Linked DNA regions of Homo sapiens: all the other regions are linked to region 1. Evidence: promoter capture Hi-C in 16 types of primary human blood cells and fetal thymus (Javierre and others, 2016). All regions are on one chromosome and are shown on one strand. Each heading gives the region's core, a stretch centred on a gene start or on the middle of the fragment in contact. The rest is flanking DNA. Distances are from core to core; before and after follow the strand shown.

What was found. Contacts are between HindIII fragments. The CHiCAGO score rates a contact against its expected background, and 5 or more counts as called.
Region 2: a fragment that was not itself captured here is called in contact with the fragment with the promoter of CTTNBP2 in region 1 in 2 of 17 cell types (megakaryocytes and erythroblasts); the score reaches 9.6 in megakaryocytes.
Region 3: a contact is called between a fragment that was not itself captured here and the fragment with the promoter of CTTNBP2 in region 1, in 1 of 17 cell types (megakaryocytes). The highest score is 5.1, in megakaryocytes.
Region 4: a fragment that was not itself captured here is called in contact with the fragment with the promoter of CTTNBP2 in region 1 in 1 of 17 cell types (megakaryocytes); the score reaches 5.4 in megakaryocytes.

The regions. Positions count from the first base shown.
Region 1 is chr7:117,870,317-117,875,735 of GRCh38, forward strand. It overlaps CTTNBP2 (cortactin binding protein 2), which reads right to left and starts at 3,125. Exons shown (of 23, transcript NM_033427.3): 1 at 3,019-3,125. The coding sequence starts at 3,099. The HindIII fragment of the contact is 3,697 bases long and covers 672-4,368 here.
Region 2 is chr7:117,743,402-117,748,820 of GRCh38, forward strand. CTTNBP2 (cortactin binding protein 2) reads right to left here. Exons shown (of 23, transcript NM_033427.3): 13 at 2,612-2,698; 14 at 2,430-2,529. Among named protein-coding and RNA genes, the nearest start is that of CFTR-AS2, 99 kb to the left of the region's middle. The HindIII fragment of the contact is 1,013 bases long and covers 2,653-3,665 here.
Region 3 is chr7:117,760,308-117,765,726 of GRCh38, forward strand. CTTNBP2 (cortactin binding protein 2) reads right to left here. Exons shown (of 23, transcript NM_033427.3): 10 at 128-403. Among named protein-coding and RNA genes, the nearest start is that of CTTNBP2, 110 kb to the right of the region's middle. The HindIII fragment of the contact is 232 bases long and covers 2,634-2,865 here.
Region 4 is chr7:117,780,570-117,785,988 of GRCh38, forward strand. CTTNBP2 (cortactin binding protein 2) reads right to left here. Exons shown (of 23, transcript NM_033427.3): 5 at 3,682-3,885; 6 at 2,293-2,392; 7 at 1-22. Among named protein-coding and RNA genes, the nearest start is that of CTTNBP2, 90 kb to the right of the region's middle. RefSeq lists silencers at 269-538, 2,650-3,165 and a cis regulatory region at 485-538. The HindIII fragment of the contact is 8,715 bases long and covers 1-5,419 here.

The DNA of each region.
Region 1 (5,419 bases), core at 1,875-4,374:
ACATTCTATAGCTGCCACGTAACTATAATTTAGTTTAAAAAAACGCTTAGCGCAATTGGCTACGAAAGTTCTTTTCAGTGCATTTACATTCAATACTGTCACCTGGAAAACAAAAATTTCAAGTTCAGCTGTTAATTTGTTTAACATCACTGTCGTGCATTTTAAATCATTGTCCAAGTTTTTCTTTGTCACTGCCACCATGACAACAAATTTTATACCTACTTCTTGTCTATTAGCTGCTCCAGAAAAGCTCAGAATGACAAGAATGTTGGTTGGCTTCCCAAATATAGCTCTAAAAAGATCTCCATTTTCCTTTCATTCCAAAATTCTTTGGTGACAATAAAAAGCATGAAGATTTCGTTTTCCATACTGCCTTATCCATTAGGAGTTATTTTCAGAGTGGAAACAGCAATATGGCCTATAAAAGTCATCACATTTGGCTAAGGCACTGAAAATAGCCCAGGTTTCCCGGCACGGTTCACGGCAAAGACTATTAATATGATCCTATTGAATAATGTAGCTGTTACCCAGCCTTAAACTTGGGATGCTTTCAGGATTTAAACAGCTAAGAATGAGGATCACAAACTAAATTTAAAACATTCCACTAAAAATGATATTAAACTGAAAACTATAAATTAAGCTTGTTTCTAAGCAACAATCTAAATAGTCAAAGCTTAGTGAAAACACTCACTTTCAAAAATAGCCTACTGCTTTAGAGCTTCCATTGACTCCTTACTGCCAAATGTATACATAAAAATGCACGATATGTAAACCAATTTGAAAGTCAACAAATCTCCAAAATGCAAAGTGAATTGTTCACTAAAATAAAAAATATCAGTCAACAAGAACCCAAAATGCATAAAACGCCTCTGATTTTTAAGGAGCAATTGTGATGACACATATCACTCCTCTACACTAGCTTTCCTTTCACTTAAAAATCAGTCTATAGGTCAAGCGGCTGATATGAGAGAACCATGCCTTATTAAGTCAAAACTATTTGGAGAACTAAAATAAAAGGCCCAATTTACTACAAAAGCCATCATCAAAATTTTACTAAAAATTCAGAAATTATTACTGGTTTTTAAACTACTAGATGAAGAATCCTTATTGCATCTCGCAACCCTAAAGGATTCTATGGAAATAGCAAAGAAGGTTCACTTTCGCAGATTTTCCATGGCTCTGCCCATTAACAAGGGTGAAATTATCAAATCCCCAACTATCAGCAGTGAAAATCAGACTTGAACATTTTAAACAGAAGAGAGGGAACACTGACCTTGTTAACACAGAAATCTGCCTGGCGTCCTGGGTTTTGTTTACGATCTAACCAAACAAAACTATATATCAGCTCTACAGACCATCAGTCAGATGTTTGTGTTTGGGTTAATTGTCAGGTGATTAAAATATTGAGGGTAACAGAAACCCATTCTGAGTGGATTAAGTAAACAAATTCAACCTTTCTGGGGAACAAGAAACACACCACACACACACACACACACACACACCCTCTTTCTTTTTCGTCCTTCCCCTTCACACACACACACACACACACACACACACACCCTCTTTCTTTTTCCTCGTCCTTCCCCTTCCCACCTTTTGGGGATGAAGGCACCAAATCATTTCCACTTGCCAGAGAGCCTTGTCTCAATAGCTAGTTTCCTTACTGTGCCCCACAGAGGGGAGCTGATTCACATAAGTGGGCAGGTTTCGTTTGAAATCTTAAAGTTCTCATTTTCTATGCAAAGAATGGAAACTCAATTTTCCCAAAAGTTCAAATCAAAACTTGCCAGTTTTACAAGTGGAAATTAGCAGTCCTCCTCCCCGTTTCTCCTTCCATTGCCAGGCTCAGCTCCTCTCACCCCAAGTACCTTCCTCCACATCTCTCCTCTCCCTCTCCAGAAAGCCCTACCTCCAGAGGGTGGGAGGAAGTTAAAGCGGCCCCCGCTGTTTACGCCCGGCCCTGCCCTCTCCTGCACTGATTCTGCTCAGGTCTTGATAGGAAGAGGGGGGCGTCCACGCCCCGCTCGCTCCATCCCACCCCATCCTTCGGCGGGAGCAGCCAGATCTGGCCAAGAGTGGGAGGCGCTCCCAGATCTGCCTTTCTCTGCAGCTCCTTGCAGCTCCTGCGAAGCTGCTTCCCAAACACCGAGAACCTTTTCCACCCAGGAAATGTGGGTCCAGCCCTTCCCCAAAGTAGAGGCTGGAAACCACCAGCGAGTCTCTACACCGGAATATTAAGGGGGTGAAAGTAAGGACCAGTCAAGAATGGTAGCGCATTCGGCCTCTAGACTCCAGAGAAGGAGAACAATGTCTTGAAACCAGGTGCAGAACCTCCACCTCTCCTGAGCATCGTCTCGGGAAGAACCAATCCATCCACCCCACCCCAATCACTACCACCAAGTAATGGGGCAGCAGGCTGCTAGGACCTAAAGCGCTGGCCTCAGCGGCAGCAGCGCCCACATCTGGACACGGCCCTCTCCCAGTGGGCCTCCCGAAGGCACAGGACCAGATGCACACAATGGGCATCCCCACACCTGCTGGGCGATGGCCCACCTCCCCCAAGCTGCTCTCCCGGGTCCGCTGAGCGGTACCAGGCACCCCCGAGACACGCGCTGGCAACCACGCGCGCAGCGAGAGGTGAACAATGGGGGGTCAAATTCGCCAGGAAACACGTCCCAGCCTTCTCCCCCGGCCAGAAGCGACCGCAGCGGAGGGAGTGGGCATAGGGGTCGCACTGGACGCAGACAGGGAGCTGGGAGAACCGGGCGACCCGGGGCCGCTTCCCGTGGGGCGCGGAAGGGACAGGAGGGATCCCCAGCCAGGGTGGCCGCTCCGCTCCCCCCCGCGGCCTCCGCCGTGTGGGCATCCCGAGGAAGGGGGGCCCCGATGAAGGGGCACCGGAGAGTCCCGGGCTTACGGAACGCCCCGGGGGTGCGAAGTCGGGTCCGGCTGGGACCCCGGCGCCGCCCCCGGCCCGCGTCTACACTAGCCCCGCGCCCGCCCCGGGAACTCGGTTACCGCCGCCTCCGCCGCGGCCCCCGCCGCGTCCTCCGGGGCCCGGGACAAGTCGGGCTCGCAGCTCGCGCCGTCCGTCGCCATCTTCCTGCTCTAGCGGATCCGAATGCGAGCTCGGAGCCGCGGCTCCGGACTCAGCCGTCTCCGCGCGGGCGGCACTTAACCCGCTGCTGTCCGGGACGCGGGCGCCTGGAGCCGGGAGCCGGGAGCCGCGGCACTCCCTCCGCCCCTCGCCACCGCCCTCGCCGCTTAACCCGCTGCGCGCCGGAGCGCCCCGCCTCGGTCCCGCCCCGCGCCCCGCGTCCCGCGCCCGGTGGCGCCAGCCGCGGGCTCGTGGAGGTGCGAGAAATGGGCGCACGACCTGGCTCCGCTGCGGCCCTGCGCGGGGACTGGGGATCAAAGACCACGGAAGAGGTGAAGGCAGAAAGCGCCCGAGGAGCGTTGCATTCCGCAGAACCCCAACCAAGCCGGAGAAATCCGTGCACAGACCAGATTAAATGTCAGGCCTCCTGAATCTGAATTCTCTGAAAGATCAGGGAAAATCCTACACTTCAGCTCCCTCTATCCCACCGCGAGGAATCACACAGGGCACCCCTTTCTTCTTAAATTGCTCTTTCTTAAATTTCATTGCCGCCAGGGTGTTTTTATCCTCCCTATATATATACACACCTGGCTCTGATTTATTCTATCGTTGACTCTAGTGTTTCTCCAAAAACAATTCTCAGATGAAAACGATTTGTCTGTCCTGTTTTCTTTTAGAACGTGGCACCAGCCCCTCAGCTCCTAACTTTCTATACAATCTCCTTTTCAGGGAATGTGTAGCGGGCTGTTTTATATTCTGTGACCCCCCTAAGTCTGAGATCTCTCCTGAAGGACTAACTGAGAAGTGTTAAATGTCATAGCTTTAAAAGCTAAATGTCATGTCCTCTACTTTTGAGAGAATTTAAAAAAATTACTCCCTACGTGTGAGGACACGTGTACATATACACCAAAAACAATCAAACAAAAGCCGTATTTGTAAAAATAGATTTTATGGGAATTACACGTCTCAGAAGATTTTTCATGAGATGAGTGAATTAGGCCCAAACGCTTAATCTTCCCTTTCCACATCTAATTCAGTTCCTACCCTTTGCTGCCAATTTCCAGAATGTGAAAATCTATCACCTCACCAAGACCATATGGTACAGCCCTTCCCAAATCACCAGATCCCTAAAAATGTGTCGAATGCATAAAATCAAATTGAGACATTCAAGCTGTGTCTCAAAGACGTAAAATCAAACCACAACCAAATCTTGCACTTGAAATTTTGGAAGATGAATGACTAGAATGTTCAGTCCAAGGGTTACAGATCAAAGCTTTTTTTTTTTTTTTCCTTTTTTCTTTCTTTCTTTCTTTCTTCTTTTTTTAATGGCAGGCTCCTAATGAAAGGTTTTGACTCTTTAATTGCTCCACTTTCCAAATTAGACCCAAATATGACACAAACCAGGGCAGAGAAAATCTTTTCTGCAAAGACCCTGAAAGGGATTGATTAATAAACTGTGAAAAGTTCCCTCCCAGAAGAGAGGTCAAGAAAGAACTTTACCTAGAACTCTGGGGCTAAAAGTCAGAGGCTTAGAAATCATCTCCAGGTTATCCTGTGAGTACAGGTACTTATTTATTTATTTATTTATTTATTTATATTGGCTCTGATAGTTACTCCCTCACTTATCCCTTTAATATCCATCCCTGTTCATTATACCACTTTCCTTTATTAAGTATACTCTCTAAAACTGCTCAATATTAGAATAACTAGATTTCTTTAAGATTAAAGAAAACCACTGGACAGTAAAAGTTAGATGTCAAACTGATAGTAAAAATTTAAAGTCCAAGGGCATTCCTTGTTCTTTTCAAAATGCACTTCCACACATTGCAAGGCAATCAATTTTCTTGATTCTGATGTTGAATACTTCTCAAGCAATTAACTGGCAAACTTCTGGAAAAAATAATAATAATAAGTTTTACTCAGGGTTAAGAGTTAGAAATATGAAATGACACCATCTCTGGGAAGCAAATCCCTTTTATACATGCAGCCCAATTTTTAAAAAAAAATCACTGGGAAAAAATTAGCTTGTATTCACCTAAATACAATTAAAGCAGGATCATGTTACAAGGAAATCAGTCCTTGCCCACCCCCCCCCCCCACCGCAAACCCCCACCCATCATTTTTTGTTTGTTTTTGTGAAATGGAAAAAAAATAAATAAAACAGTGATAAAAATCACAGGACACCACATTCTCTAACCACCAAAATCCAGTACCTGGGAAGGAGAATTGACAGCATTCTGTTTCCACCTTAAAACCAGCACTGTTGAAGGTTGGCTGAGGATCTCACCTACTGCACAGAAGTGGCACACTAGGAGTTAACTT
Region 2 (5,419 bases), core at 1,909-4,408, 130 kb before region 1:
CTTAGGAGCTGGACTGCTGGGGTTTGAGTTCCGTTTTATGTTCTTGCTGTGGGATCTTTGAGTAGGACACTTAACCCTTTATTTCAAGTGTTTTCATGTTTATAAATCAGGGATGGGACTGTATCTGCCTCAGAAAGTTGTGAGTTAATAAATGCAGTGTTTAGAATAGGGCCTACATGGTGAAACCCCGTCTCTACTAAAAATACAAAAATTAGCTGGGTGTGGTGGCGAGCGCCTGTAGCCCCAGCTACTCGGGAGGCTGAGGCAGGAGAACCACTTGAACCAGCGAGGCAGAGGTTGCAGTGAGCCGAGATCGTGCCACCACACTCCAGCCCTGGTGACAGAGTGAGACTCTGTCTCAAAAAAAAAAAAAAAAAAAAAAAAAAAAAAGAATAGGGCCACCAGTGTAAGAGCTTACAAAATGTTAGCTACAATTAGTAACATTATCAGAAAAAACAGCTTTCTGTAGCTAACTTTCACTAATTTCTAGCCCAAGACTGGCCTGTGTAGTACAGTGATATTCAGATTCTACTGGAATTTTCCTGCCCCTAAAATGTGCTTCTAGGTTTGTGGTATCCTCAGTGCTTCCCTAAACCTGCCTCTTAATTTCATTTCTTTTTTAAAAAAAAATTGTGGCTACATAGTAGGTGTATGTATTTGTGTGTCTATGAGGTGTTTTGATACAGGCTTGTGATGTGAAATAATCACATCATAAAGAATGGGGTATATTTATCCCCTCAAGCATTTATCCTTTGTGTTACAAACAATCCAATTACCTCCTTCTAGTTATTTTACAATGTACAATTAAGTTATTACTGACTATAGGTACAATTATTACTGACTATAGTCACTATCAAACAGTAGGTCTCATTCATTCTTTCTATTTTTTCAGAACCCATTAACCACCCCCACCTACTCCCCAACACCCAACACTACCCTTCTCTGCCTCTGGTAACCATCCTTCTACTCTCTATCTCCATGAATTCAATTGCTTTGATTTTTAGATCCCTCAAACAATTAAGAACCTGTGATGTTTGTCTTTCTGTGCCTGGCTTATTTCATGCAACATAATGATCTCTAGTTCCATCCGTGTTGTTGCAAATGACAGGATCTCATTCTTTTTTTTATGGTCGAATAGCGCTCCATCGTGTATATGTACCATATTTTCTTTATCTATTCATCTGTTGACTTAGAAAGTGCTGGCTAGGCACGGTGGCTCACGCTTGTAATCCCAGCACTTTGGGAGACCCAAGGCAGGCAGATTGTTTGAGCTCAGGAGTTCAAGACCAGCCTGAGCAACATGGCAAACTCTTTGTCTACAAAAAATACACACACACACACACAAATTAGCTGGAAGTGCTGGGGCGTGCCTGTAGTCCTACCTACTCAGGAGGCTGAGGTGGAAGGTTAGCTTGTGCCCCAGAAATCGAGGCTGCAGTGAGCTGAGATCATGCCACTGTTCTATCTTCCTAAGCCTGGTCTACATTTGCCCTGGCCACAAGATATAGAAGCACCCCTCCCCAACAAAGAGATTTTGAATTTGCATTTCAACCTATCCTTCTCCAATCTTACAACTGCTTCCTTCGCCCCTTCCCCAGGGGTCTCTGTGGCTTTCAGCCCTAGGAGACTAAAGTCTGGTCCATTTCAGTTTTGTGTCAGAGTCACTAGTTATGCTATTCTACAGTATGCAATGCAGGGTTATGCTAATTCCACCTGTGATGAAACGTGGGGTATTAGACCCTGGAATCTAAGATCGAAAACTCATTAATAACATTACATTAATAAACATATTTAATCCCGGTGCTGCTACTACCATAGCTGTGGCAAATTACTGGACCTCTCTGTGACCCTTTCCCCACCTTTGAAAGTAGAAATAATGATACCTACACTTGCATAGGGCTGTTGTGGAGACTGAATGAGTTAATTAGTGCATGTGATGTATTTCACTAAGTGCCAGTCAATGGCATAGCAAGAGTGAGGTAGAGAAAGTGGTTGGCCCCAGGTGCAGCACTAAGGGATGTATTGGTTGTAGAGAATTTATGAGTAATAAAATTTACTAAAAAGTTGATCTGCTGTGTATCACCACCATGCTCCAGCAGTTCTAAACAGCATCAAAGATGCAATACCTAGTCCAGCTAGGGTGAACTGCTCCTACCACCTCCTCCCTTGGTATACCACTAGTGCCAGTAAGACAGTATGCTAGCAACAATTAATGATTAATAACAAAAAGAAGAAAAAAATGCAGGATGCTCAACAAATGCAATAATATACACATGAAGATAATTTTTGCAAGTGTTTATCCCACAGCTGCTGAATAATTAAAGTTATCTTAAATGTATCCCCAAGCAACACAGTGTATTTTCTCTTAATGGCATAATTGAAGAGCATGCCTTTAGGTTATCACAGGCAATTTGCTGAAATGTTCTTACCGCTACTAATGAACAGGTCTAGTAGCTGTTCCTTGGAAAAACCAGCATCTACTTCAGCTCTCACTATTTCACAGGAGAATCCTGCAGCCATTTGTCTGTGCTGTGATAAGAAAATAGGGTGATTAGTTCTACGCACTTGCCAATTTTCAAAGAAAAGCAGCTGATATACAAGTAATCAATACCTTCAGGCAGAGTGCAAGCTGATGTACTATGTAGTCTTGCAAGCTTCCTTCTGGGCCGTGGAAAATGACATTATGATATTGCTCAACCTATTAACAAACCAAGTAGAGAGCTAGGGTGAAGATGCTAAATTGATGAGAGAAAAAAGTGGTACACAGGTGTGGAATTCTTTTTTGATTGTCCTCATACTTTCAAAAGATTAAAAACAATATTTTAGAGATTAGCTTTATCATTGGACACCTGTACTCTCATTTGAATGTGAAACATGGGCAAAGGGTACTTAGCAAGAGCTGATACTTTATAAAAAAACACATTTTTTCCCTCTATTTTCCATAGCGAGGGTCTGCAGGGTAGCTGAGACACACAGTTCCAAGTTCATTTTGTCCCTTCCAGAAATTCTGTAACTTTTTCTATATTATCCTTTGCAGATGCTCTTTATGTGGAATTTTGTCAATGCTTATTTAGCTTGTTCGTGGTTAAAACAGTAATGCATTTCATTATGGAAATTTTGGTATATATAAAGAAGAATAAAAAATTACTGAGTGTCAGCACCCACAGTCACCGTAAATATTTTTGTTTCCTTCCAGTTTTTTCTTTGCATAGTGGCTGCGTGTGTGTGTGTATGTTTAAAAGATGGGTACATGAGTGTCATCTTTTTACAGCTGTTGTATATCAGATAATGTCTTTGTGTTGACTTCTTAGGTAAAAGATGTTTTGATGAGTATAAAACTCAGATCAACTTTATATATTATTCCATTCTGGAATTCAGTGTTTTAAAGAAATCTAGGTAGAGATGGATTACTTTCGCTTTGTCAAAAAGAAAATCTCCTGCCTGTATGCTTATATATATTTTTTAAACTTTATCCTCGTGTATAAGGATACCTCGCCTGAGAACATGGAGTTTCAGCATGCACTTGGATGGAAAGGCAATTATCATCTACACAGGGCAAAGGCAGCGATGTCTTGAGAAAAATATGGAGAGGAAAGTTAGCCTCCCACTTCTGTCATCCCAGGGCTGACACCCCTGCACCCTGCCCAGCACACATGCTTGGGAGAAGCTTTCTTAATGGAAAGCTGGTCTTGCAGCAAGGTCTTGCCGGAAAGGACTTGGACAGGTGAGGGTCCAACCTAACTGATACAGTTGATATTGCTCAAGTGAAGATTGAGCCACCCAGACTTAGAGAAGTTTTGAGTTTGTTCTCTCTATAATCTAGAACAGGACAATGTAAGAATGTGTGTGTGTATCTCTGTGTTGTCTCTCTCTTGTACTCTGATGAGGTTGTCCCTTTGAGATCACAGGAAAAGGCCCATCCTTTATGGTAGCTGGGATGGACTTCTGTGAAGATAGTAAAAATGCCCCAGTCCATCATTACAAGGAGGCAGATTGTGGGATATAAAAGGAAGGCTTGAAGAAAAGCTCTTAGCATAAGAGATGAACTAAACTTTTTCCTTACCCTAGGCCTTTAAGACTTGAGCTTTGGGCCGCACGTGGTGGCTCACGCCTTTAATCCCAGCACTTTGGGAGGCCAAGGTGGGCGGATCACTTGAGGTCAGGCGTTCAAGACTAGACTGGCAAATACGGTGAAACCCCATCTCCACTAAAAATACAAAAATTAGCCAGGTGTGGTGGTGGGTGCCTGTAATACCAGTTACTTGGGAGGTTGAGGCAGGAGAATCGCTTGAACCCGGGAGGTGGAGGTTGCAGTGAGCCAAGATCATGCCACTGCACCCCATCCTGGGCAACAGAGCGAAACCCTGTCTCAAGGTTAAAAAGAAAAAAGACATGAGGTTTGGCCTCTAAGGAGACTAAGGAAGGTTGGTGAGCACTTCTGGGAAGTGGAGGAAAGCCAGGCATGACCACCAGGATTCAGACCATGAGCTAAGAGGGCAGTGGTCCTTTAAGGGGCTCCTTGATGTTGGGCTTGGGACTGGGTTTTAGGCTCTGAAAGATATCATGTCTGGTAGCCTCCCGTAATATTCTCTGAGTTGGAATACTGTTCAATTATTAGTACACCTTCAATAAAAGGCTTACGGTGGAGGTGCAGGCAAGGACCAAACCTGGAGCAAGAACTTCCCCAGAGACACAGGAAAGACTACCCTAGAAAGTGCTGCTGAGGTTCTGCCTCTAAGCAGTAAGGCAATGGGGCCACAAGTCTGCAGGGATACATTATTATTAAATAATAATTATTGAAAAGTAATACGTTTTCATTTATACTTATGAGATGGGGAAGCCTGGGTGACGTACAGATTGTACTTTTCATTAAAAAATGCTGCCCAGATATGTCTAGTTATAGCCTCTTTCTCCTAATCTTAAATGGAACATGGTAAGTCCTTTTGATATGCATAGTCATAATTTTTTTGGATTAGGACATTTTTCTCCAATTTTTTGGTAATTTCTCCTCTTCTAGTTCTCTTTAACTATAATGAACACCTATAATGCTTAAGTTCTCTTTTTTCTGCGAGTATCTGTCATCTTATCTCATCATTATAGCTCTGTCTTCTTTTGCATTGAGAGAGCTCAAGTTAGTCTTGCACAACACGCAAAATATTCACGATCTCACTTCTGTTCTCTATAGTCAAGTGCAACTTTATGCCATTGCATTTTCAATTGTTCTTATAGTTCCTTACCTCATCCATCTCCTTTCTAACACTTTTCCTTGTAATCTAAGCCCAGACTCTACTATGACTTTCTTGCCCTGCTTTCATAGTCTACCACCTTGCATCCTGTAGACAACATAATTTTCCAAACTTTTTCTGTTTTTCCTAGTTGCTGTGGTCAAAATGTTTGTGTTGCTTCCCCTGGCTCCAAT
Region 3 (5,419 bases), core at 1,500-3,999, 110 kb before region 1:
CACCGGCAGCTGCCACAAGTAAGCTTTGAATGTGCTTAATCAATGAACTAAGAATCAGGTTATGAAACCCACAAACATAAATAAACCCAGAAATTTCACTTTCTCTCCGTCATAGGACTGCTGATACCTAGCGTGATGGATCGTATGCTTCTTGCACTGAGGCCGATGTTGGAATCAGTGGTGTTATTGCAAGTCACGTCTTCCAGACTCCACCATCCATCAGAAGAGATTGCCTGGAAATGATTTGTCAGAGCTTGACTCACTGCTTTTGAAAAATCATCCCATGATGTCTGTTTGCGGATATTTAAAGCACATATTGTGTTTTCACATTCCAAGTCATCAGAACCATAGTTGCTTGGTTCAATCTCACCCACTGAAATCCTTAAGGGTATTTTAAGAGCATCTGTTAGAAGAGTAAAAGAATTAGGAGTTAAAAAAATCTGGACAGAAAAAAAAAGTAAAACTATTACATAAAATAAGCAGATATAAACATTTAAAAATTATAAACCAAAGCTATTTTATTTCATTAAATAACATTACATTGAACGTTCTTACACTGGAGTAAACTTTTGTCTCCCAATCTCTTCAGTTTCTTTGGAAGCACGCTGCACGAACTGTCTCTTTCCTTGTATCTTTGGCTTTTTCTATTTCATTAACTCTTTCCCATCAGCAAGATTGTCAAGTTTTAAAAAAAAAAATCTGAAAGAACTATAACCCTCCCTTGACCCTGAATTCTCTATATTCTCCTTTCCTTCATAGATAATGTCATGGATGAGGCAGGTTATAGTTGGACAGGTCGGGATGCTTAGGATAGTAACTGAGAATCATATAGACCTTGGGTTGAACCGCAGAGTCAGGGTCAGCCTCCTATAGATGCGTGTTCTTGTAAATTGATCTCTCTGTACCCCAATTTCTTCCATAAAATGGAGGGAATGTATATCGAGTTGGTGTGAAAAATAAATGAACTTACTTTTGTAATAGATTTTACATATTCTTATGTGGTAAATACCAGTAAGTATTTGATAAATGGTTAACAGGGTAGCAGGATTTAACTTTTGAAATGTTCTTTCCAATTTCTCCGACTGAGGCTCCAGCAGAGTGGGTAGCACCCCCATCTACTTCTGTTCTCATGACTGAATTGTATGCTGAGTTACTTGTGTTTGTTTCCAAATATTCTATGTTCATTGAACTGATGACTATAATTATTGAATTAAGTATTCCATAAATTGATGAAATATGAGTTACTGTTCCTATGAAAACTAAGTTGAATCCTTTAGAGACAGTTTAGGAACTGTTAAAAAATTTTATCTAATGAGGTATAAATGGGACAACTATATGAAATTAGAAATGGTTTAATAATCTCTGGACAGGTATTACCTTTAGTTTGCTTCATAAATGTGTTTAAGCAGTCAAACATTAGAAATCATAGATGATGCATCAAAGGTATGTTTTTTTCAAACAAGAGTATGTGAAATTTTAATCAGTAGAACCTGTACTAAAGACCTCTATCTAAACTTTGGTAAAAAATTCCTTTGTATGCTTTAAAATTAAAATGTTTTAAAACAACATGTGTTTGTTTATATGATCCTCTTCTTAAACTTAGATTTTTCCATTAAGTAACCAACTGCTGGATTACTTATTTTCCATTTTCTGACTCTCAGTCATCTTACTTATCCACAGTATCTGACAAAAGTGATCTCTCTTTGCTCCTTGATATACTCCTCCTGGATCTCCTGTACCTCCTCGGTCGCTCTTTAATGTTGTTCCTTTGTTGTTCTCTCCACCTTTTCCAGACTTCTTAATGATAGTGTGTTTTGGGGCTCCTTTCTCTATTTATTTTGTGCATGTTCATTCCCTTAGTGATCTCATCCAGTCCCATGACTTTAAATATCACTGATAGACTGCTGACCTTCACATTTATTCACCCAGCTCTCACTCGTCTCAGGAATTCCTGCTGACTTGACATCTCCACACAGATATCCTAAGAGACATCTCAAATTCCTGCATCCAAATCTGAACTCCCCAACTACATGAGAAAATCTGTTTCACTCATGGCCTTTCCCCCTAACAAGTACTGGCAACTCCATCGTGCCAGTTGGTCAGACTGAACACCTTGAATTATCAGACTGAACACCTTGAATTATACTCCCTCACACTTCACATTCAATCCATGAGGAAGTTCTGTTGACTCTACCTTCAACTGTATCCAGAACCCAAGTCCTTCTCATTACCTCATCTGCTGCATTCCTACACTGAGCCACCATAATTGTCTCTCACCTGGAATACCATATGCATGTACTAACAGCTGTTCCTGATTTATCTGTGACTTCCTATAGCTGATTCTCAACAAAGCAGCCAGTGCTACTGTTAAAATGTGCATCAGATCCCATCTCTCCTACAATCGAACACTGCAATGGCTACCTTAAGTTCTTACAATGGCCTACGCATTCCAACAAGATCAGGCCACGCTCCACCCTGTAACTGCTCTCCTGCACTCAAACACTGAAATGGCTACTGCTCTGACCCGTCTTCCTGCTTCTCTTTCCTTTTAACCCAGTCATCCTGCCCTCCTTGCAGTTCCTCAGACACAACAGGAATGCTGCTACCTCAGGCCTCTGTCCAACTCGTGCTAAAGCTTCTTGAACCTTAGATATCCACATAGCTGCCCTGTTCACCTCCTTCAAGCCTTGGCTTCAATGTCTCATCAGTGAGGCAAACTTGGCCACCATTTTAAAAGCTGAAACACACCCTTTAAATCCTCATCCCCCTTAGTCTTTTCCATAGCATATCTCACCACCTCACAATGCCAAAAAATAAATTTTTCTTATATTTATTGTTCATTTTATCTCTTAATGTTAGACTATAAGCTTCAGGATGAGAACAATCTTCTTAAAAATTTTCTGACTTACATCAAGTGGCTAAGATAGTGACTGGCACAAGAGCAGCTCAATAAGCATATGTTCAATGAATTAATAAAAAGGTGTTTATTCAATGGATGAAGAAAACTATTCTACCAGAGATTTTTTCCACTGTCTTTCCATATTATTCTCAGCTTAAAATAATCAGCTTCTATGTAACTGCACAAAACTTGTCTCCCTGTTAGCGGTAACTTCTATTTGCCAAATGCAATCGACTCTTTTTAATCCTTATAGTCTAGGGAATGTGATACTATTAAATTAATTCTTCCTGTTGGAAAGGTCTCCTAACTTGAATCCAATTACACCATTGTTTTCTTTTTCTTCTTCTTCTTTTTTTTTTTTTTTTTTTTTTTGAGACAGGGTCTTTCTCTGTCACCCAGGCTGGAGGGCAGTGGTGCCACCTTGACTCACTGCAGCCTTGACCTCCCTGGCTCAGGTAATCCTCTCACCTCAGCACCCATGGAGCAGACAACAGTTGGGACTACAGGCACGTGTCACCATGCCTGGCAATTTATTTTTATTTTTTGAAGAGATGGAGTTTTGCCATGTTGCCCAGACTGGTCTTGAACTCCTGGGCTCAAGCAATCCTCCTGCCTCAGCCTCCTCAAATGCTGGGATTACAGGCATGAGCCACTATGCCTGACCATACAACATTATTTTTTGGCTCTTTTCCTTCCTATTTCCCAATCTTCTTTTAGGGTCATTTTTAAAAAATATTTTCTGCCCTAAAAATGGGGGTTTCTCTGGGCTTGGCCTTCAGTTTGCTTTTCCCCTCACCCTGTATATCATTCCTGTCTCATAGCACCCCTATGACTTGAACCATGACCCTGTTCTCCAGCCCTGTGACTCCCTGGCTTGTTCAGCCCTCCTTCCCTCTTACTAGGTACCAGTCATGCTCCCCATCTATGGTATCCTGTGTATCAAGATCAAGACAATTATTTCCCCATTACCTACATCTTACTTCCTCACTTACAATCGTTCAATTGTTCATTCATGTCCACAGGATTGCATCAAAACTTACATGGAAGATTGAGTCAAAAGGAATACAAGGCCTTTTATGACCTGACTCTAGACTTCCCATACTCATCTCCCTCCTCTCCCCAGCACTGCAGATACAGCTAAATACCTCTAAAGACTCCAAAGCACATCCCCTTCAGTGCCTCCAGATATGCTGCTAGTTCACCTGGAATGGCTCTATTTTCCACTCTTTCTTGGCTCAGCCTTTCAATTTTCACTTAAATCTTCCATAGGGAAGCTCTTACCTCCCCTATGCATATTTTTACACTTTGCCTTATTTAGTGGTACTTATAACAAATATAGGCTTGGAGTTGTATTTTTAAACTTTTACACAGATGGTTTTATATTATGTGTCCTTCTATAACTGACTTCTTCACTCAACACTTTTTTAATGTATTTCAGGTGATTTATATAGATAAAATTTATTTTTAAGTGCTACTTGGTACCTTTAAAATATGAATTTTCTACAGTTTATTCTATTTATCCATTTCCTAATAGATTTCCATTTAGAGTGCTTTCAGTTTTCTAGTATTACACACAATGCTGCAACACACATTTTCATATGTCTCCTGATACACACATGCAAGAGTACTTCTAGCTATGTGCTTAGGCGAGGAGTAGTTTGTTGAATAAATGAAAATAATTGTGCATCTTTGTTCTTCTTTGACATATTCTGTTCTTCAGGTTTTTTTTGTTTTGTTTTGTTTTTTTGAGATAGAGTCTCACTCTGTCACCCAGGCTGGAGTGCAGTGGCGCCATCTTGGCTCACTGCAACCTCTGCCTCCCGGGTTCAAACGATTCTCCTGCCTCAGCCTCCTGAGCAGCTGGAATTACAGGCATATGCCACCACGCCCAGATAATTTTGTATTCTTTAGTAGAGACGGGGTTTCTCTATGTTGGTCAGGCTGGTCTCGAACTCCCGACCTCAGGTGATCTGCCCACCTCAGCCTCCCAAAGTGCTGGGATTACAGACGTGAGCCACCACACCTGGCCCCACTTACTTTCTATAGTTCATTTGCATTCGCAGCTTTTATCATAAGCCTTATGGAAGTAATCATAATCTAAATGCATATCCTGTCTTTTTTACTTCTCTCAGATTGTCAGAATTGGAATCTTAGAAAGACCTTAAGAAATGATCCACTCTTTTGCACTCAGGTATACGAATAATTACTAACCCTATTAACAGGTGAGCAGACTGAGGTGAGAGAAGGCTAAGCACCTTGTCTAACATTACACAGACATCTGGATACTGGGATTCAGATGCCCTTTCCCTTAAATCACACTACCTAATGTCCAGTCTTCCACAGGATGTACATCTGCAAATCCTGCCAACATGTCTGAGATAGAAATTATACTCAGGTCTCCCATATCAGTCTTTATTTCATAAAGTCCTCCTTAATCCTCAATTTTAGGATTTCCCATCCCTCTCATTATATACCATTTCCCTCTCCTCCACCCTGGTCCAACTGAGGACACATCATTAA
Region 4 (5,419 bases), core at 907-3,406, 91 kb before region 1:
TGAAATTAATAATTCTACACACCTAAACACAAGATTAGGATTAATTACATAAAACCTGGGTTTGACCTTTGAAGCACCACCTAACCAAGATATTAAATACAGAAAAGAAAGCAATGTTGCATCTTTATATACATCAATTGTTTCTATTTACATATATCAATTATTATGGATCTTATTACATGACTACTGTTTTTTTCACAAGGCTAGAAAATATATTCTAATCATAAAATTTAATTTCTCCCAGGAAATTTTGAAAAGTGCTAATACCTGCTTTATGACACTTCCCTATAACCAACTTGTGAAAGTAGAGTCCTTAGAATTTAACTTACTGGGATGAACGGTTTAACTGTACTTGATAAATATATATTATTTTGGTTCGAAATAGTTTGAACACTGAAAAAAGGCTGCTGAGTCATTCTGAGATTTTCACTTGAGAAAATAATTATAAATAGCATAGACAGCAGGGCACCATGTGCCTTCTCTATAAAAGGCAGCAGAAAGGCTGAGAAAAGGGTTGCCTTGGGGAGAAAAGACAGCAGAGGTTGTCCTGTCTCCTGAAGTCAGGCTAGTTGATGAGGAAAAGATAGCTAAGCAGAAACTCACTGTCCTGAGAATCAAGGAGGAAAGAAATGAGGTAAAGTCAAGACTTTGTGACACTTATTTACTAGCTAAACATGTAGAGCTTAAGTTGTAAAATTAGTTGAGAATAAACTTAGAAAAGAGGGCTAAATCATAATCAAAGTAAGAAGCAATCCACTTCATCTTTTATTTTCACTCCAATGAATGTTTTTCCTAATTTTCCCTTGCAGTATCTGATTTATACATTTTTTTTAAATTAAGTGACATGTTGATATACATGTGTATCAGACACATTTAAATTAACAAATCCAGCCTGGCACGGTGGCTCACACATGTAATCCCAGCACTTTGGGAGGCTGAGGGGGACAGATGACGAAGTCAGGAGATCCAGACCATTCTGGCCAACACGGTGAAACCCGTCTCTACTAAAATACAAAAAATTATCTGGGTGTGGTGGCGTACACCTGTAGTCCCAGCTACTCGGGAGGCCGAGGCAGGGGTATCGCTTAGACCCAGGAGGCGGAGGTTGCAGTGAGCTGAGATTGCACCACTATACTCCAGCCTGGCGACAGAGCAAGACTCCGTCTAAAAGAAAGAAAGAAAAAAATCCATCCCCAGATTTCTCCAGGGTCCTTCCTGTTTGCAAAGTTATCCATGCTTCCATTCCTGTGACTGCTATATGTCCAAGAAAGTGCCCCTACAGGTTGCCTGGTGAAAGTAAAGGTAAAAAGCACAGCTCAGGAGAAATTCCTTTTGAAGGAGTCAGGATATGTCCCAAGAGTAACAGCAAAATCAGTGTCTAGGGTTCTCAATGACAAACTCAGGGTAATGAGGTATGTGGTAGATATGCAGAAAAGTGAATCATGCTCTACATAAATAATTCATTTTGAATTTTAAAAAATTATATTTATGATTAATAACATGGGGTCAACCTTAAAAACCCATATTTCAATAATTCTGGAATTTGTTAAAGAACATTCCTATCGGGACAGTTAGATTAAAAAGTTAAAAGCAACTTGCGTTTCCCACAACCTGCCATTTCAGCACAGGCAGAGAAAGCAACTTAGCTATTTTCTATTTTTTTAAGTTAAAATATGACTTTTAATGTTAAAAAGTCATGCCTATATCTAACTGACTTAGTAAGCTACTAAAGAAATCATTGCTAAAGTTAGGTATATTTTAATTAATAGGGTCTCTTTAGCTTAATGCCCAAACTACTTTCAGTATGTAAAATTCATGCTTCCATTTTGTTTTAAATGGTAAAACAAGATGAATAATTAGAATACATTACCACTAGGAAATTTAGATTATTACAACCAATATAATTCTATGTTCTACTTTTAGTGACATCATAAGTAAAAAATCTTTTAGGGGGTTGGAATGGTGTAAAACAGTGAAAAACAAACTTCTCAACAGTCCTTCATCTCATGACATATGTGTTGATATGCCATAGATGATCTTCCAAAGAAAGTTCATTCACGTTCAGTTGGGACACAGCCCAGTTCTCTTCTTCACTTCCCTCAAACATTAACTATTATTAAGAGCAAATTTAGAATCCTAGTTTGCATTTAAATCCTCAAATATATTTAGTGAATTTATTTGCCAGTGATTTTAAGCACTAGTTTACACATTCAGCCGGAACTAAAATACGTGTGCAAATTATAAAAAGAGGCTCCTTTGATGGTGGGAAAAAAAGAATTAAGAGCAACTTACTCGAAATGTCCCTGAGCAGCTGCAGCACACAAGGGTGTGAAGCCATTTTTATCAGCAGCATTGACTTGGGCTTCTGCACTCAGCAGCAATCTCACACAGTCTATGGATTTTAATAGAAAGCCATGTAAATTCCCCATTTGGAGTTATGATGTGCCAAATTCTATACAAGCTGTAGATAGATTCTAATCCCAAAGGGACTCTCCCCTGCACAGTTCATCTCAGAATTCCATCATGGCAGACCTGAGACTCTGTAGACTATTTTACAGGAAAAGCAGCCAATTTTCCCAAAGATTATAATACCCCAGATTCACTAAGATGCGTGTGTGTGTGTGCATGCGCATGTGCCCATGCGTGTGTGCATTTTGGGAAGAGTTGCTGCTGAGTAAAAAAAAATGTCATGTGCCAGAAAATGCTTTACCAGATCTTTCCAACAGTCTATCCCAGAAAATAATGTTCCTGGATGGAGAATCAAATTCATTTACCAAACGGAAATACCATTCTTTGTACTTAAATAAATTATTACTTTATGATGTTTAATTTAATCTTTAAACTGCTTTTGGATGGTGGGCATCCTACACTTAACTCCATGAATGAGGCTAAAGGACAGCCCATCGAAAGTCACCTAACTCAGGAATAAATATCACCTAGATGTCACATTCCTGATGTTACTTACTAGATTTACTTCTTCTATATTAAAGAAAATCTCCATGGTGATTATGAAGAATTCTAGAATACTTTAAAAATAACGGGATCTCTGAGGTCACTAGAATCCTCCATTTATCTGAATTAATCGACAATCATATGGGCTTCCATATGCAACGCTATCTGACTTTGCATTTGCGGTCAAGTCCTCTCTTTTTCTGCACTCCCATATGTTTTGGTATATTTGACTACAGGATTTGCATTTTAAAGAACAAGAATAATTCCCAGTCTTCATCGATATACCATTTATAGTTACACAACTTCTCGGTTCTTTTAAGACATTCAAATAACTATAAATTGTTCCAACTGTGGAACAATTTCAGGCCCATGACCTTACCTAACTGCTAAAACTTTCCCTCACTGTAGCATGTAGCACTAAAGTTCTGATAATTAGACTTTCTCATATATCAGGTATTTCTAACAGACCATAAATGCAAACTAATCTTTGCATAAAACAAAGATTACTTTTTACTAGCTCTGGTAAAACTTTACATTAATGAACTGTACAATTTGGATTTTTTAAATGTTTATAAAAACTTTAAATCTCATGTTTAAAAAAACTATCCATTACCACCTGTAAAAGAAAAATAAAACTAAATTGAACTTTCTGCTCATTACAATTGATACATGGGCTTTTGACTTTCCATCCTTTTGCAAGTGTGTGGTATAAGATCTCGCCATATTTACCTGTATGTCCATTCTTAGCAGCAGAATACAAGGCAGAATGGCCATCTTCACAGGAGTAATTAATGTCCAGTCCTTCTTCATTAAGCAGCATTGATAATAAAGTGACATTTCCCTGGGCAGCAGCTTGCTGAAGAAGGGTGGGCCTGCCAGCCAGGGGGGCAGGACCACCACTCATTAGCAAAGGGGTTAGGGAGGGTGACCAGCCTGTAGGTTAAAGTGACCCTCGTTAGAGAGTAGGAGCAAGGACAAGAGACAGATATTACCCATTCCTTTCTGAATTACACACACACAAACATATGAACATGTGTCCCTAGAGGATTATGTGGTTTCTAACATTATCAATCTGTTAATATTTACTTAGCATGAATCTGGACTGTTATTTCAGATCTTACATCTGCTGCTAATTAAATCAACATACATGGTAAAAAATTATTTTTAGTCATGAGTCTTGCACAGGTAAGTGTTAAAGTGGTGACTGGTTTTAGGAAAACTTAAGATGGCTGTCTCATTTTAAAAGTTCAAATTTCTCTTCAGGATTTTAAAACAATTTGAATTTTAAAATGTAAAGGTTTTACAAGGTAAAGTTTTCCTCTAATTCAATATTAATCTGGAAAAGTAAACTGATATTTTTAGGTATAAGAGGAATAATTGTAACAGATTTTTCTTTTTCAACAAGGTTTCTAAAATGTTTAATTACAAATTTTATGTAAACCATTAAGATGGACCAAAGAGTCTATTTATATTCCTTGAATTCCCTTATTTGGGAATAGAAATAATGGAGGCCAACTGCTATTCAGTATTAAGAGATAATAAAATATAACATATATAACTGGATCTAGAGTTCACCAGCACAAATATTCAATATACAATTGTGAAGACTGTATCATCTGGCCACCTTTACAAAATGCCTAACAAACTTTTAATCAGCCAACAAAACAGGACACTCAACTATATAATTTTAACAAAAACAATGAGTTATAGTTAGATATTTCTCATCAGTATTTAGCAGCTTTAGAAGAGAGTCTGTTAAGTGTGTGAAATCGGCTGCATATAGCATGAAAAATTTTCTGAATTCTTCCTTGATCAAAAGGCTGTAAAAACAGTAAAGTAAAAAATGTTCATTCAATGTGACATATAGATATTTGTGTATTTTAGACTTAAATACAGTGAATTTTCAAAATAAGACATTTTCCGCTTTTTCCTTATAGGGTTCTAATACCTGTAACATTGTTGTGCATATGTACATATATTCATCCCTAAGGGCACACTTTCACAGACCAATTAAGACTATTTTGTCCTGACCAAAGTGATTACAGATGGAGGGCTTTATTCTAAATAGTGTTTCACAATGACTAGACCCTGAATTTCTATATGCACAATACATCTCATTGTGCATAAAACAAAGATTACTTTTTACTAGCTGCAGTAAAATTTTATGTTAAGGAACTATACCATTTGGATTTTTAAAATGTTTTGTAACTATCCACTACCACCTGTAAAAGAAAATTAAAACCATATTGAACCTTCTGCTCATAACAATGGTCACATGGGCTTTTGACTTTACATCCTTTTGCATGTGTGTGGCATGATGAGATAAGATCTTGCCATATTTACCTGCATGTCCTTTCTTAGCAGTGGAATACAAGGCAGAATGGCCACCTGATTACGATATGTGGTAATATCCCTTTAGTAAGATACAACAGATGGATGTTTTATACTCTCTGTACATTGGTATCAG